Regions from separate parts of the Homo sapiens genome. Here region 1 is linked to region 2. The links are contacts of gene promoters, found by promoter capture Hi-C in blood cells and fetal thymus (Javierre and others, 2016). All regions are on one chromosome and are shown on one strand. The core of a region is centred on a gene start or on the middle of the fragment in contact, and the rest is flanking DNA. Distances in the headings are between cores, read along the strand shown. Region 1 holds the start of STATH (statherin). Region 2 holds the start of CSN1S1 (casein alpha s1).

Evidence for each region. Contacts are between HindIII fragments. The CHiCAGO score rates a contact against its expected background, and 5 or more counts as called.
Region 1: the fragment with the promoter of STATH here is called in contact with the fragment with the promoter of CSN1S1 in region 2 in 2 of 17 cell types (neutrophils and fetal thymus); the score reaches 6.0 in neutrophils.

The regions. Positions count from the first base shown.
Region 1 is chr4:69,993,830-69,997,216 of GRCh38, reverse strand. STATH (statherin) reads right to left here and starts at 1,251. Exons shown (of 6, transcript NM_003154.3): 1 at 1,192-1,251. The HindIII fragment of the contact is 2,895 bases long and covers 1,240-3,387 here.
Region 2 is chr4:69,929,177-69,932,601 of GRCh38, reverse strand. CSN1S1 (casein alpha s1) reads right to left here and starts at 1,534. Exons shown (of 16, transcript NM_001890.2): 1 at 1,485-1,534; 2 at 1-58. The coding sequence starts at 46. The HindIII fragment of the contact is 13,101 bases long and covers 1-3,081 here.

The DNA of each region.
Region 1 (3,387 bases), core at 2-2,501, 65 kb before region 2:
CACAGCACTTTGGAAGGCCAAGGTGGGCAGATCACCTGTGGTCAGGAGTTCAAGACCAGCCTGACCAACATGGAGAAACCCCGTCTCTACTAAAAATAATAATAATAAAAATTTAGCTGGGCATGGTGGTGAGTGCCTATAATCCCAGCTACTTAGGAAGCTGAGGCAGGAGAATCACTTGAGCCCGGGAGGTGGAGGTTGCGGTGAGCCGAGATTGCACCATTGCACTCCAGCCTGGGCAACAAGAGCGAAACTCTGTCTCAAATTAAAAAAAAAAAAAAAAAAAAAAGGAAATTTCTGGTATTAGAGTAAGTGTAAAAATAATATGTACTTTGGGGTTTTTCTATCACCTGATAGATAAACCTACCCATCAGTCATTTTATGATGCAAAAAGCATAAAAACTTTAGTGTATTTTATACCTGTAAATTTTATTGAAAGTATGGAATCAAAAAATGCTCATAGAAGAGTAGTTTTGTTTTACTAACCTTGATAAACTGAAAGATGGATATATAGACATAGATATATAAATATATATGTCATGGTTTTAAAAAAATATTTCCCCAATGAAAAATAATAAAAATATGAAATAGTAAAATCTTTGTTTTCTGCCATATCACAACTGAATGAAAACAACTTAAGTAATATAAAACAGTAAGGCAGTAAAGCATGACTGTTATACAACATTTTTTATTATGCAGAATGACATAACTGTTTAAAATGATGGAAAGGTCAATGAAAAGGTAGTGAGAAATGTTTACTTATGGGAAAAAAGTAAATTTTTAAAAGTTAAACTTGTGAAACAATATATACATTTGCAAAAAAGAGAACGTATGCTATTTTCTTAAAATATGAACTTCGAATAAAGGTAAAAGTAGTAAGTAGCAGAGTAGATGCCAGTACGTAGACAAGGAAATAAAAAGCTTTTCAGAAGTTCCATCAGGAGAGAAGTTGGAATATGTCTCCATATTCCACATTATTTACTTTGCATGATGATTGCTGATTTCAATGTATAGTTATTCAGATTCTCAACTTACCTTCAGATCCTAAGAAGGTCATCATTTCTCTCAATTGTTTCTTTATGAGAAATTATCATTACATAAATACACATTTTTATAATTAGTTTTCAAAAGATTTTAGGAAGCAACACTCTAGATTAAGACAACATATTCGATTATACATGAACATATTACCTTTTACTCAAGATGAGACTACAGAAGTAGTGAAGTTGAAGTGAAGCTTCAAGAGATGATGTGCTACCCTAGAGGGCCAATGTATTTAAACACTCTGAAGTCCCCCATTTGTTTTTGTTAAATAATGGCAATTATGAGATCACATTATGGAAACTAAAAGTAATGCCCAAAATCTGTCTCTACAAATGATAAAAATAACCGTAACAAAGTGATTTTGCAATAGATGATTGTGAAGACAAAGTAACCAGGAAACAACTGTACCCACTGCATGTTAATCCCACTGTTAGTCTAGCGCTGAGTGAGTCAGATGACAGAAAAGCATGCTGGAGGAAACCAGGCATAGAAATAATTGCAGTGATAAAGATGTTTCCACAAGTATGTGTCCAAGGTGGAACAACTCTATGACACAAATAATACTTACCATGTTATCAAGATTTTACATGTTCTCTGATAACTCGTGGTAACTGGCATAATAAAATTACAGTCTTCATATACTTCAAGAGTTTTTCTTCAAATCATTATTTATCTCATACTTTTACCATCTTCTATTGACTTTAGAATATTTTAAGTTACAAAGTGAACGTAAACATTTGCCAAATTCAGTAATCTTTTGGGTACTATATGATAAAAAATTATTATATTTATGGTGAAATGACTCTAAGTGCTCACTGATACATATCTCACATATGACTGAATATATGTATTTGGAAATTCAATTTAATTTCCTGGAGTTTTTAAGGCTACATATTTTTCCATAGCAGCCATGTGTTGACATGATTACACTAGAGTGAAGGAAAAAATGTTTTCATTACATTCCTAGGAAAATTTGTGTAAAAATTACCCTACTCACTGCTGGTTGGATAACTCAATGTACTAAGAAACGAATATCAAAAACTTATATATAAAGTTGAGGTAAGTTATACAGCCTAGTGCATTGTTCCTCAGAGTGTGCCATATGGGAACATCACAGACAGCATCAGCTGGAGCCTGTGGAAATGTAAATTCTTAGTCCACCTTCGCAAACTTGCTGAGTCAGAATCTTGGGGTTGTCCTAAGGCGTTTGCATTTTAACATTATCTCCAGGTGATTCTTTGGGTACTGTGAAGTTTGAAACAAGGCTGGTCTCAGTGGCTCATGTCTGTAATCCCAGCACTTTGGGAGGCCGAGGCAGGAGGATTGCTTGAGCATAGAAGTTCAAGAATAGCCTAGGCAACATAGTGAGACCCGTATCTCCACAAAAACATAAAAAAAAAAACAACCACATATTTGTCTCTTGAATGCATTAGTTATCCTTAGGCTTTAACCAGTAAAGATAATTTGTGGTTTAATTTTGTATCAGATTTTTTAAGGAAGTATTTATTAGGTAAATTTTTATGCTGTATTGGAACAGCCTTACTGGAAATTATGATTACTCTCTGGGTAATATACAAGAAAATATAAATCATTTCTTAAGGCAAATAAATAATTCAAATTAAATTAGATAGATATTATTCTTATTCTTTTGTCATGAGATTTATAAGCATTATAGATACAAAGTTTCTTCTCATGTGTAAAACAAACACAATCTCTTTACATTCTGAGTGGAAAAAAGTTACATAGGGTTCAGTAACTATTTTATTTTTCCAGAGATGGGGTCTTGCTGCATAGCACAGTCTTGAGTGCATTGGTGAGATCATAGTTCACAGATGCCTGGAACTCCTGGGCTCAAGTGGTCCTACAACCTCAGCCTCATGTTTAGCTGGGACTACAGACATGTGTTATCACTCTTGGTTAATTTAATTTAAATTGTTTTTGGTGGAGACTTGGTCTTGCTATGTTGCCCATGCTGGTCTTGAACTTTTGACCACAAAAATCCTTCTGCCTTAGCCTCCAAGTAGTGCTGGGATTGCAGTCATGAGCCATTGTGCCTGGCCCATGGTTCAGTAACTACTGAACTATATCTGATTTTAAAAATAAACTGCTTCGATTACTTGGGGAAAGTCAAATGATTTTCTTCTTTTCTTCTTTCTTTCTTCTCCCTCTCTTCTCCTTTCTTACCTCTGGTTTTCTTCACCACTTCATTTATCCAACAATACTAGGTACTGTTCTAGTAGATCTAAGGTATTCATGTTCTAGTGAACATAAAGCAAACTAATAGCCCAAAGGCACTAACAAACAGCAAACTACATGGTAAGAAATATTGATACATCTTAATAT
Region 2 (3,425 bases), core at 285-2,784:
TGGCAAGAGCAACAGCCACAAGACAGGTGAGAATGAGAAGCCTCATGGTTATCAGAGCCTATGTAAGAGAACAAAAAAGAAAGAGTTAGATATTATTACGTTAAATTTGTTTCCTGAAAAAAATTCTTGATTTTTCAACAAAGGAGCAAATTATGATAAAAGTAGGCTGATTTGAGGAGCTGTAATGTGAATTTTTATAAACTTAAGATTTTAAAAACTTTACTACTCAATATCAATGTTTACCATTCTAGTTATTTTTCTTAGTTCTTATATTATTTAGAAATACTAATTTCTTACAAACATTTTTCTTCACTAACACTTTAAAACATAACATTTTGTTCTTAATGTAATAATATGGCTTAGAGAAATAAAGAAGTGCTAATATTGAAATACAATTGAAAAAAGAAAACACTTTTCCTCCTAGATGACAAATCAGATTTTCTAAAGTGGGCAATAAAGTTAAATCCACTGAGAACTGGAATTTAATTTTATTGAAAAGTTTTGAAAATGAGCTTCTCTTTTAAATCTATTTGAGAGCATTCTTTTCTTTTAGAGTCTTCATGAAAAATCCTGTCTGCACGTTATGTAAAAGCTATTGATCTCTTTCAATTTTTAAATAAAGAATCTAGCCATAACTTCGTGTTTTGCTACATTGGAATATTCATGACATAAATATATAAAGATGATTGAATTGGATAGAATCAAAATATTGACATGTCTTATATTTGATTTCCAGAGTTTCATTAAATTGCAAGAACCCCGAAATATGGACATCCACATGTACTGGGAAAATGGTTTCCAGAGAAATCATTAGAAAAAAAATCAGGTCACACATACTATTTGTTCACACCTTAATCAACATACAAATGCTGACATTTATATATATTGCTTCAGTCTACAAATTTTAGAATCTAAATGTGTTAATAAAAAAGGCATATTTTTGAACCCAAATAAATTTACTATTTGTGTCTTTCTGAATATCTAAATTTAATAATCATTACAAAGTAGCCATCAATAGCTAATTATCTATAATAGATATTCACATTGTAGAGTTAATTTTGTTGCCCAAATGACATGAAACAAAAATGGCCTTGAACTATTCTGCTAGAAATGGTTTTTGCTATGGTAATTACAAAAATAAGAAATTATTTGCATAACAACTTCTCATAGAATTAGGTAAAAATAATTTAAATTAGCTTACCCCAAGCCTCTACTGAAATTATGTATCAACTTTAAAAATATATTTTAGTTACAAAATTATCAAAAAATGATTTGGTATTTTTATAAAACTGTATTGATTCATCACCTAAAGCTGTAAAATGGTATCAGAATTTGCAAAAGGATTTTTAAGGTGCCAGAAAATCATAAGAAGTTTTAATATTTGCAAACATATGGAAATGGTACAAATATACTTAGTAAACAGTGGAAGAAAGAGATTAGATAATGTAAAATGATAGCAATTTTGCTGTATGTAAACGCAGTACCTTAAGCCCAAGTCTGGAGAGAAGCAAGTTGTGTTGATGACCAAGATGATGGCCGATCTCTTTGCTTTACGCTATTTAAATGTGGTAATTAGAAAATGCTAATTTTGTGGTTTCAGTTCAACCAATAGGTTTATTTAAATTCTAAGAATTCTCCCAAATAGGAAACTAATTTTCTGTCCAATTCCTTTCCCAGGAAATTCTGAGAATTTTCAACAGGGAGTGATTCATGCTATGATAACAGATTACACAAGAAATAAAGTGGCATTATTGCAAATTAAAATACAAAAATTTCCAAATTTATGGCTATTATAAAAACATGATTTTATGTTGAAGGGATAATTTGACAGGAACATATTAATAAAATTCTCTGTATATCTTTTGAAAAATTCAATTCCTATAATGGAAATCCTGGGGACAAAATAGGGTCTTAGAAACGTTCCAATTTCTATCAGTGTACCAGGCCATTAAAAGAATTCATCATTTATTTACCTTTTAAAATGCAGCTTGTCCTCTATTATTTATTGTGACTATCTGCTTTATGGATTAACTTATACTGTATATGCTCTGATCTTTTTTTCAAAGAAGGATATCCAACTGTCCTATGTGTTTTGGTGATATTTAAGCTACAGCAGACAATTTTTTGTTTGCTTTCTTTTAGGCATATTGGTTGTGATAGTATTTATTTAACAAATTATAACATTGACTAATTAGAAGTAATATTTATTCATTAATTTTAATTTTAAAAGATTTTGGAAAATTATGCCATACCTCTGATTTCCTGTTTTTTAAAAGTAAATAAAGGAAAGAAATGAAAATGCCTCTCTCCTATCCCAGACTCTGTTCCTTTATGTTAACTATCATTATACAATGTAGAAAAATACTATATCCTGAGGAAAATATCTGTAATAGAGAGGGTTTTTAAAAATTGTTGTTGACTGCGACTTTGCTTTTTTACAGGAAAAGAATCATACTATATATTTTAGGAAATAAAAAAATAGTAATGATATTTACAGCCTTTTCACAGTCATATGAAAAGGGCATTATTCTGGGTTAACACACATTTCAGACTGGTTAATTTCAGATTGGGGATCAGAAGAGATGTACTTTTCCATATTAAAGTTCTCTTTAGTTAGTGTTTTCCTTACTGACTACATCACATAAATTTCAACAACTTACTAGTGTTTCCTATTCACTGTGATTCATTTAAGAGGCTGAGACAAGCATCAGCTGTATTACAGTACCTTGGTTTTGTCTTTTCCCAGAAGTGTACCCAGGAAAACTGATTTATTTTACTCCTAACTCAAAATCAAGCTATACCTACCAACCAAAAAAAAGGCCAGGACCAGATGGATTCACAGCCGAATTCTACCAGAGGTACAAGGAGGAGCTGGTACCATTCCTTCTGAAACTATTCCAATCAATAGAAAAAGAGGAAATCCTCCCTAACTCATTTTATGAGGCCATCATCATCCTGATATCAATGCCTGGCAGAGACACAACAGAAAAAGAATTTTAGACCAATATCCCTGATGAACATCGATGCAAAAATCCTCAATAAAATACTGGCAAACCAAATCCAGCAGCACATCAAAAAGCTTATCCACCATGATCAAGTGGGCTTCATCCCTGGGATGCAAGGCTGGTTCAACATACAAAAATCAATAAACGTAATACAGCATATAAACAGAACCAAGGACAAAAACCACATGGTTATCTCAAAAGATGCAGAAAAGGCCTTTGACAAAATTCAATAGCCCTTCATGCTAAAAACTCTCAATAAATTCGGGATTGATGAGACATATCTCAAAATAATAAGGGCTATTTATGACAAACCCACAGCCAGTATCATACCGAATGGACAAAAACTGGAAGCACTCCCTTTGAAAACTGTCACGAGACAGGGATGCCCTCTCTCACCACTCCTATTCAACAGTGTTGGAA